2 separate regions of the Homo sapiens genome follow, and region 2 is linked to region 1. Evidence: promoter capture Hi-C in 16 types of primary human blood cells and fetal thymus (Javierre and others, 2016). All regions are on one chromosome and are shown on one strand. Each heading gives the region's core, a stretch centred on a gene start or on the middle of the fragment in contact. The rest is flanking DNA. Distances are from core to core; before and after follow the strand shown. Region 1 holds the start of OVCA2 (OVCA2 serine hydrolase domain containing). Region 2 overlaps SMG6 (SMG6 nonsense mediated mRNA decay factor).

Region 1 (5,492 bases), core at 1-2,500:
TTTGGGGCTCAGAGGCAATGGCAACATCACATTTGTCCTTGTGAGATGAGTTTGAGCGGTGGCTGACACCTGCCCTGTACCAGGTACTAAATGTGGTTCTGGGGATACTATCACCAGTGAGCTGCCCTGGAAAGCTCATTGTCGGCAGAGGAAACAGGAGAAAACACGCAACAATACAGTATTCCAAACAGCAGTGGGTCACTGTCTTTACTTTAGGATTCATAAAGCCTGTTAATGAATGGGTGTGCTGGGGGCACTGTCATGTTCTTCAGCATGCTGCCTGGGCGACGAGGAGGCCCTTCCTAGGGTCTGACCTGGCTTCCCTTCCCAGGTGGGTGCAGGTGGCATGTCCACGTCTCTCCATTGACTGGGGCACAGCCTTCCCCAAGCCGCTGCTGACACCCTATGAGGTAACACCAAGCTCTGGGAGAGAGTGGGCTTTGGACGTGGTTCTCAAAGGTGAGGTCTGGAGTGGAGTGGGGTGGGTGGGCAGCACTTCGTTATGTTCGTAGATTCCGGAGTCTGTCTCGATTTCTCCAGCGGAGTCACTTCCTAGCTGTGTAGCCTTAGGCAAGGCCCTGAACCACACAGTTCCCTTCTGTGGCAGGGGACAGTGTGCCCTTCACAGGCCGTCGTGAGGACTGAATTCAGTAATCCAGGGGCAGAAAAACACTGGCAGATGTTATTGTCCCTCCCTCCCCTCCCCTAGGCGGCCGTGGCTCTGAGGGACATTTCCTGGCAGCAGCCCTACCCGATGGACTTCTACGCTGGCAGCTCCTTGGGGCCCTGGACGGTGAACCACGGCCAGGACCGCCGTCCCCACGCCCCGGGCCGGCCCGCGCGGGGGAAGGTAGGCGGGGGCTTCCAGGAGGGAGGAGAGACCGCGCCTGGGCACTGGCCGCCGCCCTGCGACCGCGACGGGAAACGCACAGGAGCGGAGCGGAGGGAAACGCAGGGTCGCAGGAGCGAGACCCTAACCAAAGTCTGCGACCTCAGGTGCAGGAGGGGTCCGCGCGTCCCCCTTCGGCCGTGGCTTGCGAGGACTGCAGCTGCAGGGACGAGAAGGTGGCGCCGCTGGCTCCTTGACGCGCTCCCGGGCCTCAGGTATCAGCCCCCGCTCTGGGTGCGCCCCGCCTTTTGCCGTTGTCATGGGAACGCCTTGGCGCTCCGAGGCCCGCCCTCGGGGCGGTGCTGACGTTCGGTTCCGCCCCGTGCATTGTGCTTCCGCTCGGGGAAAGACCGCTTCCGGTGCTTCCGTCGCTCCTTGCCGGGCATAATGGCCGCGCAGCGACCCCTGCGGGTCCTGTGCCTGGCGGGCTTCCGGCAGAGCGAGCGGGGCTTCCGTGAGAAGACCGGGGCGCTGAGGAAGGCGCTGCGGGGTCGCGCCGAGCTCGTGTGCCTCAGCGGCCCGCACCCGGTCCCCGACCCCCCGGGCCCCGAGGGCGCCAGATCAGACTTCGGTGAGACAAGCCCCGCTCCGGAAACGCACTCAGTTTCCTCCATCTTGTTTCGTCCCCCTCGACACCCTTCAGCATCCCCCACCCTGCGTCCACCCGCATTCCTCCCACCCAGTCCACACCCTTCATTTCTCGCGACCCATACCCTCTTTGCTCAAACTGCAGCCTGTCCTCCCAGGCTTCCGCCTTCACCGTCTTCCTCCGCTGTCTCCTGTTCAGGCCAATCCACTCATTTCCCCCCTCTCATTTCCCCCAGACTTTTGCCTCGATTCCCTTTTTCTCTCTGTCATCTCGAACCCTCCTGCCCTTTCTCATTTCTTTCCTTCCTGGAGCCTCCCATGCCCTAATCCCATCCTTTTTCCTCATATCGCTGTAGGGTCCTGCCCTCCGGAGGAGCAGCCTCGAGGCTGGTGGTTTTCAGAGCAGGAGGCCGACGTTTTCTCCGCATTGGAAGAGCCCGCCGTCTGCAGGGGCCTGGAGGAATCACTGGGGATGGTGGCACAGGCACTGAACAGGCTGGGGCCTTTTGACGGCCTTCTTGGTTTCAGCCAAGGGGCTGCGCTAGCAGCCCTTGTGTGTGCCCTGGGCCAGGCAGGCGATCCCCGCTTCCCCTTGCCACGGTTTATCCTCTTGGTGTCTGGTTTCTGTCCCCGGGGCATTGGGTTCAAGGAATCCATCCTGCAAAGGCCCTTGTCATTGCCTTCGCTCCATGTTTTTGGGGACACTGACAAAGTCATCCCCTCTCAGGAGAGTGTGCAACTGGCCAGCCAATTTCCCGGAGCCATCACCCTCACCCACTCTGGTGGCCACTTCATTCCAGCAGCTGCACCCCAGCGTCAGGCCTACCTCAAGTTCTTGGACCAGTTTGCAGAGTGAAAGATCAAGAAATGTCTCTGCTCCTACATCCAGCTCCTCTAGGGGCAGCCTCCGTCATCCATGCCCTCCCAGGACCCTCCACTCACTGCTGTGAGTGCGCCTCACCAGAACCAGTTAAGAGACAACTATCAATTCTTGAGACCCAAATTATAAGGGCCCTGCCCTGTACTGAAGAAAAGGGGAGCACAAGGCCTTAATGGACATTGACTTGTGAAAACGCAAACATGAATATGGTTGGAGAGCCCTGGATTAGGAGGGTGACATGGGGAAGGCAGAGGCTGGCACCATGGTGACTGCCACATAATAAAGTGGTGATTTGGATTTTGAGCATCTTTTTCCTGGTACACACAGAAAAACATTTTATAATGGAAGTCGGTTTCTTGGCCATCTACATAGTTTTCTGGGCAGCGCCAAGCAGGGAGGTGTCTCCAGTTGTGAGTCCTCGGACAGGCTGCTGCATGGGTGCACATACTCACGTTATTGGTGGAAGTTTTAAGTCCCAAACTGAAGGGAAGGAGGCCTAGGTGGCACAATCAGGGAGGAATATACATCTGAGAAGTTTTGGGAAGACATCACCTGGCAAGGCTGCCTGAACCACAGTAATTTAGTCTTCCTCTATCCAGATCACTGAGAGTTGTGTGCTGGTCTTCTCTCAAACCCTGGATGTGTTACCTGCTTCTCCCTAAGTGCTCTAACCTCGCTGAACTATGAGCCTGAAGGGTGGGTCGATGCCAGACCTTAGGTGGAGGCCAAAGACAGTACAGAATAAACAGCTTCTTCCTAAATTGACCCCATCTTGAGGGTTTCTGAGATTGATGCCATTCTTTAGTGACTACAGCCAAGGCCTAAGCAATCCAGCTGGTTTTCCCCTTGGGGCGTGTAGTTGTTCTTGGATACTTTGAGGATTGCTCACTCTTTTTTTTTTTTTTTTTGAGACAGGCTCACTCTGTCACCCAGGCTGGAGAGCAGTGGCCAAGATCCTGGCTCACTGCAACCTCAGCCTCCTGGGTTCAAGCAGTTCTGTCTCAGCCTCCTGAGTAGGTGGCGTTACAGGCATGCGCCACCACGCCTGGCTAATTTCTATATTTTTTTGTAGAGATAGGGTTTTGCCACGTTGCCCAGGCTGGTCTCAAAACTCTTTAGCTCAAACAATCCACCTGCCTCAGCCTCCCAAAGTGCTAGGATTATAGGCCTGAGCCACTGCACCTACCTAGGATTGCCCACTCTTTTTTTGTTTTCTTTACTTTTAAAGACAAGGTCTGACTCTATCACCCAGGCTGGAGTGCAGTGGCACAATCTTGACAGCCTCCACCTCCCGGGCTCAAGCCATCCATCCTCCCACCTCAGCCTCCCAAGCAGCTGGGGCTGCAGGCGCAAATCACCATGCCTGGCTAATTTTTGTATTTGTTGTAGAGAAGGGGTCTCACCATGTTGTGCGGATGGTCTCCAACTTGCGAGCTCAAGCAATCCACCTGTCCTGGCCTCCCAAAGTGCTGGAATTAACAGGCGTGAGCCACCTCACCTGGCCAATTGCCCACTCTTAATGAGTTCCCTCCCATTTCCAGTGCCACCTGACACCCCCCACCCCCTGACACACACACACACACTCTTGTTTTCTGACTTCCTGCCTCTGCAAGACAAGAAGCCTGTTCTTTTTCTGGAAGATCACACCAACTCCTGTTTAGCCCTCAGACATAGTTGCCAGGGAGCTAAGCAACTGAGCAGGAATTATGGTCAGGGACACAGCACAAATACTCCAGCCCATTTTTCTGACAACCAGACTAATATCCCTTACATTACCGAAAGTTCTGGGTTCCTCACTACAGAGATTAGCTGTCCAAAATTAAAAAAAACAAAACAAAACAGAATTATCCGCCCAGAGACCTAGTTACTGGGTGTGGAAAGTGTGTGTGGGGAGGGGTGGGAGGTGGTTCTCCCTTGCTTCAGTTGGCTTCTGCCTTGTTTTAAGGAATCTTCTCCTTTAGCAAAAGGAGGAGACTTTGGAATGGATTGATTACACAGACTGTGGTATCTGACCCATTGAATTTTAGAAAAAATTCTGATTTAAAGTTTCAGAAATTGCACAGAAAATTTCAGATTTCTGGCTTCTCTGGAAATGATAGATTTGCAGTTCAGGGCTCCCATACCCTCATGGTAATCATAGGCTGCCCCCTTTAGCACGGTCCCAAGAGGTGAAAACGACTTGTACACCCCAGCTGCTTGGGATTATTGAGGACGAAAGTAGAGAGAAGGGGAGAAATATTGGGGAGTGAATTTTGAGCCAAGGCTTAAAATTAAAAGTGGGGGAGGTAGAGCCCAGCAGTAGTAGGTGGAGGAGAAGGGCTCCTGGCCGGGGGTGAGGATTCCTCCTGAGAACCATAGTGTCCAAGCTAGAGGGAAACATGGGGTCCACTAGTTCTCGACAAGTGGAACAGGTCACTTCCCATCATGCCGTCCAGGAGCAAGAGAGACTCTTAGGGGGTTGTGCCCCTCCCCACCCCCAATACGCAGATTCTGTGTACCATTTACATCCAGAACATTGGTTAAAACCTGAATTCTGGCCCTGCGTGGTGGCTCATGCCTGTAATCCCAGCACTTTGGGAGGCGGAGGCGGGCAGATCACCTGAGGTTGGGAATTTGAGGCCAGCCAGACCAACAGAGAGAAACTCTGTCTCTACTAAAAATACAAAATTAGCCAACCATGGTGGCGCATGCCTGTAATCCCAGCTACTTGGAAGGCTGAAGCAGGAGAATTGCTTGAACCTGGGAGGCAAAGGTTGCGGTAAGCCGAGATCACGCTATTGCACTCCAACCTGGGCAACGAGAGCGAAACTGTCTCAAAAAAAAAAAAAAAAAAAAGTAGCTGGGCGTGGTGGCATGCACCTGTAATCCTAGCTACTTGGTAGGCTGAGGCAGGAGAATTGCTTGAACCCAGGAGGCGGAGGTTGCAGTGAGCCGAAATTGTGCCACTGCACTCCAGCCTGGGTGACAGAGTGAGACTCCATCTCAAAAAACCAACTTGAATTCTGGGGCCAACTCCAGATGTACTGAGTCAGAATCACTGGGACCCAGGAATCTGCATTTTGGCAAATTGCCCCCATCATTCCCAAGCAGGGATTTGAAAAGCCACTGCCTTAGGGGTTGAATGAAAGCCTCGGG
Region 2 (5,492 bases), core at 1,697-4,196, 110 kb after region 1:
AGAAAGAAATAACAAAGGACTGCTTCAGTTGTCTTTTTATGGGTTGGGCCCTCCAAGAAACAGAGCTGGCTCTTAGTCCTAAGAGGCTAAAACTTGCCTTCTATCAAAATGTAAGTCAGTGGCAAAGCACCAATTCCAACATTTCAGTTCTAAGTCCACAGGACTTTAATGTTTCCACCGGGAGGGTCCTGCTCATGTTTTGTAATCCTAAAAGGCAGAACTGCCTGTTCATTCATGTTCAGTTTAGCAGGAGGGCTAGAAAGGAGACAGGTTAGATTCTGGCAGAGTGCCTTCTTCCCCCAACTGCATCCAGTCTAGAGCAGGGGTCCCAGCCCCCGGGGTTGTGGACCGTGGTACCAGTCCATGGCTTGTTAGGAACTGGGCCGCACAGCAGGAAGAGAGCGGTCAAAGCAAGCAAGACCGCCTGAGCTCCGCCTCCTGTCAAGTCAGCAGCAGCATTAGATTCTCACAGGAGTGGAGCGCGAACCCTATTGTGAACCACACGTGCAAGGAATCTAGCCTGCGTGCTCCTTCTGAGAACCTAACTAATGCTGGATGATGGCAAGTGGAACAGTTTCATCCTGAAACCACCCACTGCTAACCCTGTCTGTGGAAAAACTGTCTCCCACAAAACCAGTTCCTGGTGCCAAAAAGGTTGGGGACCACCGGTCTAGAGTATCAAGGGCCCAATACCAATGTGTTGAACAGATGCTGTTGGCACTGTCTACTGTGTTCATCAACATCCCCAAAGGACACAGCTATGCCCCATGTCATCAGGGGTAGCTCGCCTCTAGGTGGTTATGTCTTCCTGGCCCTCGATGCTATGGAAGTGATCCCCAAAGGACACAGCTATGCCCCATGTCATCAGGGGTAGCTCACCTCTAGGTGGTTATGTCTCCTGGCCCTCGATGCTATGGAAGTGACCAGGTTCAACTCTGATGGCCATCTTGAGATGTTCTTCCTATTACACTTTATATTGCTGTTCCCAGAAGTCAGGCAAAGGCAAATCACAAAAGATCTCTGCCTATACAAAGTATGACTCTAAGGTAATAAGATATGTTTTTAAAAATCACAAATGAGTATTGGTCTAATTAGGATACTTGACAGTGACATCTTACACCGAGGCTGTGAAATACCCTTTCCCCCAACTCTCAAACCCAGATCTCACTTGAGTGTGAAGGATTAAAAAAAAAAAAAATCCGTAACCCAGCTGTGACACTTCCTTCCACCTCTACCTGTACATCTGTTTCCTATGGCGTGCTGCCGCCTCAAGTAAGATGGGTGAGGCTTCTGTAGATGCTGGGGAACAAGATGGAACAAAAATGCTTCACACCTGGCTCCCAAATTACAGGAACGCTGGACCGAGGCCAACATAAGCTGGCACAGCACCAGCTGAAATGGACATCAATTAAGGAGCTTGTCATCTTTCAAGACTACAGGGTCTTTTTTCACTCCACAGTCTGCACTGCTCCACAAACCAGCCATAGCACCACTAGCAGGGTTTTCCAGATGGGATCATTTCCCTTAGATTCCACATTTGCAGATTTATTGCAGAACTTTTTAACCCATCCCTCCATTTTTAAAGCCTGAAATATTATTCCACATTACAGTTTTATATTCAATTGATTTGTCTATAGCAAAATCTGTACTTTCATGAGCAGAAAAAGAAAGTTTTAAGCCTGCCTACAAGTTGCTGTTTGCTTACAAAAAGACATGCAAATAACTGAGATTCACGAAGGCTCAGAAATTCTTCTCTGAACACATTGCTCCAACTGGGATCAGAAGTCAGAGAGCCTTCACCAGGCTCCACTGTCCTGGAGAAATGGTCAGATCTCCAGCACTAAGGCAGGCCTCCTCTGACCATCACATGCAGTGTTAGTGATCCATGTCACATGCACAAAGAAAAAGAAACTCTACTAATGTCTAGTCAGTGGCAAATGCTGCTTAAGAAAAACATCTTAACACGGATCAGCAATTAAAAAGTGACAAGATTCCACATAGTATCTTCTCTTGACTTTTATCCAATGGGGCAGGACATTTTCCCTACACCTATGCGGCTGCCCAGTGGAAAGAATTCCACACAACATGAAAGAGACCCATGGTGAGTATGTTCTGAGAACTGAATTCCATTGCCTCGGGGGCCTGTCTGCTGCTGCCAATTTGCTTCTCATGGCAGAACCCTGTGTGTCAGAACCCTGACTAGGCTCTGCCGATGGTTGTTTGGAAAAGAGTCCAGCTGGAGATGAAAGGAGTTCTTCAAAGCAATGACTCCTTGGAGGCTATCACTTTAGAATTGGGAATGATTACTTATCAAAAAACGACTTCACTCTGGAATATACTACGGGCAAGAAGCTGGCCTGACCTCTCGGGTATTCTGTTGGAGTCGGCCTGAGCCGGAGAGGCCTTGATGAATTTGGAGTGATGGCAGGAAGTGAGGAACCCAGTTGAAGGTAAGAGCCCAGAAGCTACATCATAGGCGGGGACAGGAGAAAGAACTGAAAAAAGCTTCAGAAATCTGTCTGGACAATTCAGTTTGGCCCACCCCTTATCCCCCTCTTTCATTTTAAATAAACAGCTTCAAAAGGGGTGGTCCTCACAACTTTCTGCTGACTAAGGTCTCAATTTCCTTATGGTCCTCTACTAAGAGAGCCTGTGAACCCTTCAGCTCTCAGCATTTAATCAGTCAAAACTTAGTCTCTAAAGTGAAAAGACAAGCCACAGACTGAGAGAAAATATCTGCAATGCATTTGTACCTGACAAAGGATTTGCATCCTAAATATATAAAGACCTCTCAAGACTCAGTAAGAAAATAATCCGATTTAACAATAGGCAAAAGATGTGAATAGACACTTCACCAAAGAAGATACACAGATGACAAATGAACATATGAAAAGATGCTCAACATCATTAGCCATTAGAGAAATGCGAATTAAAATCACAAGGTACCTAGTATAATTATTAAAAAACAAACAAACTGACAGGATCAAGTGCTGATAATGATGCCAGAACAGGAACTGCTCGTGCAATACGGTGCAGCCACTTTGTAAAACAGTTTGCTGGTCTCTAGCGAAGTTAAACATACTCTTATCACATAAACCACCCGTTCCACTCCTAAGTATTTATCCAAGAGAAATGAAAACCTAAGTTCATTTAAGAAACGTAAAGACTGATGCACAAATGTTTACAGCAGTTCTATCCATGACCACCAAAAACTGCAAATAGCCCAAATGTTCAACTGGTGAATGGATAAACAAATCATAGTGTATGTATACAATGGAATACTACTCTGCAACAAAAAAGAACATATGATTGATATAGGCAACAGCATGCATGAATCTCAAATGTATTACGCTATGCGAAAAGAAGCCAGACTCAAGAGCTCTATATCAAGCTTATCCAACCCGTGGCCCACGCAGCCCAACGCAAATTTATAAACTTTCTTAAAATACTATGAGATGTTTTTTGAGACTTTTTTTTAAAGCTTATTAGCTATCGTTAGTGTTAGTGTAGTCTATGTGTGGCCCAAGACAATTCTTCCAATGTGGCCCAGGGAAGCCAAAAGATTGGCACCCCTGCTCTATGTACTGTATGATTTTATTTATACGTCATTCTGGAAAAAGCTAAGTTACAGAGACAGAAAACATCAGAAGTTGTCAGGGACTGGGGTTGGGAAGGGAGCTGGTTGCATGAGGGAATTTTTGGGGGTGTTGAAAATGGTCTATATCTTAATTGTAGTGATGGTTACATGAAAGTATGTGTTTCTCAAAACTGTACAACAGAGTGAATTTTAACTTATGCAAACCCGCCCATCTTGGTTGCTAAGAGTCTCTATGGCACAGGGGTAAACTGGTGGAACGCCACTCCACGCGGTGACTGGGGGAACCTGGGGATGCATGTAGAGTGTGACGGTGACTGGGGAACCTGGGGATGCATGTAGAGTGTGACGGTGACTGGGGGAACCTGGGGATGCATGTAGAGTGTGACGGTGACTGGGGAACCTGGGGATGCATGTAGAGTGTGACGGTGACGGGGGAACCTGGGGATGCATCTAGAGTGTGACGGTGACTGGGAAACCTGGGGATGCACGTAGAGTGTGATGGTGACTGGGGGAACCTGGGGATGCATGTAGAGTGTGACGGTGACTGGGAAACCTGGGGATGCACGTAGAGTGTGCGGTGACGGGGGAACCTGGGGAGGCACGTAGAGTGTGACGGTGACGGGGGAACCTGGGGATGCACGTAGAGTGTGACGGTGACTGGGGAACCTGGGGATGCATGTAGAGTGTGACGGTGACTGGGGAAACCTGGGGATGCATGTAGAGTGTGACGGTGACTGGGGAACCTGGGGATGCATATAGAGTGTGACGGTGACTGGGGGAACCTGGGGATGCATGTAGAGTGTGACGGTGACTGGGGAACCTGGGGATGCATGTAGAGTGTGACGGTGACTGGGAAACCTGAGGATGCACGTAGAGTGTGACGGTGACGGGGGAACCTGGGGATGCACGCAGAGTGTGACGGTGACTGGGAAACCTGGGGATGCATCTAGAGTGTGACGGTGACTGGGAAACCTGGGGATGCATCTAGAGTGTGACGGTGACTGGGAAACCTGGGGATGCATGTAGAGTGTGACGGTGACGGGGGGGAATCTGGGGATGCATCTAGAGTGTGACGGGGCTGAGGGAGGGCCCACTTTCACCTTGAAATTACAGACAACACTATAAAACAGACAAAGATTTATGTTGGAAAAAAAGAATTTTATGCCCTTTGTCCTTCAACTTTTTCCTTGTTGTAGAGACAATACAACCTTCTTTAGAGATTACAAAGGTATGAAATCTCAGCCTGGTATTCCTCCTCCCTTTACATGTCCTGTTTCACTTAGGCAGAGGTCTCTGTTTCTCCAAAAGAGCAAAGTGTATATTCAAGCTGAAATCAGAGGCCTAGACTAACTAGAGGCCTGCTGGCTGGAAGGGATTAATGTGCACAGAACTTAATAAAAATGAATACTGAAACTATTGTTAATAATAAACACCTGCTAACCTCTAATTAAAAAGTATAAGGACAGCATGGTGGCTGTAATCACAGCACTTTGGGAGGCCAAGGTGGGTGAACTGCTTGAGCTCAGGACTTCAAGACCAGCCTGGGCAACATGGTGAAATCTCATCTCTACAAAAAAATACAAAAATTAGCGGGGTGTGGTAGCATGTACCTGTGGTCCCAGCTACTCAGAAGCTGAGGTGGGAGGATCCCTTGAGCTCAGAAGGTTGAGGCCACAGTGAGCCACTGCATTCCAGCACTGGCAACAAAACAAGATGTTGTCTCAAAAAAAACAAAGTATACTCTGAGAAAAAAAATTTTTTTTTTTTTTTGAGATGGAGTCTCACTCCATCACCCAGGCTGGAGTGCAGTGGTGGGATCTCAGCTCACTGCAACCTCCACCTTGCTGGTTCAAGTGATTCTCCTGCCTTAGCACCCCTAGCAGCTGGGATTACT

Evidence for each region. The method cuts DNA at HindIII sites, captures the fragments that hold promoters and counts their contacts. A CHiCAGO score of 5 or more calls a contact.
Region 2: a fragment that was not itself captured here is called in contact with the fragment with the promoter of OVCA2 in region 1 in 8 of 17 cell types (endothelial precursors, monocytes, activated CD4 T cells and 5 more); the score reaches 7.7 in endothelial precursors.

What each region holds. Positions count from the first base shown.
Region 1 is chr17:2,040,772-2,046,263 of GRCh38, forward strand. It overlaps OVCA2 (OVCA2 serine hydrolase domain containing), which reads left to right and starts at 1,251. Exons shown (of 2, transcript NM_080822.3): 1 at 1,251-1,460; 2 at 1,834-2,654. The coding sequence starts at 1,277. The coding sequence ends at 2,333. It overlaps DPH1 (diphthamide biosynthesis 1), which reads left to right. Exons shown (of 13, transcript NM_001383.6): 10 at 332-410; 11 at 710-850; 12 at 997-1,104; 13 at 1,834-3,127. The coding sequence ends at 1,086. RefSeq lists silencers at 754-843, 1,354-1,553 and an enhancer at 1,104-1,163. The HindIII fragment of the contact is 21,411 bases long and covers 1-5,492 here.
Region 2 is chr17:2,149,703-2,155,194 of GRCh38, forward strand. The region is part of intron 13 of SMG6 (SMG6 nonsense mediated mRNA decay factor); the gene reads right to left. Among named protein-coding and RNA genes, the nearest start is that of SMG6-AS1, 63 kb to the left of the region's middle. The HindIII fragment of the contact is 886 bases long and covers 2,504-3,389 here.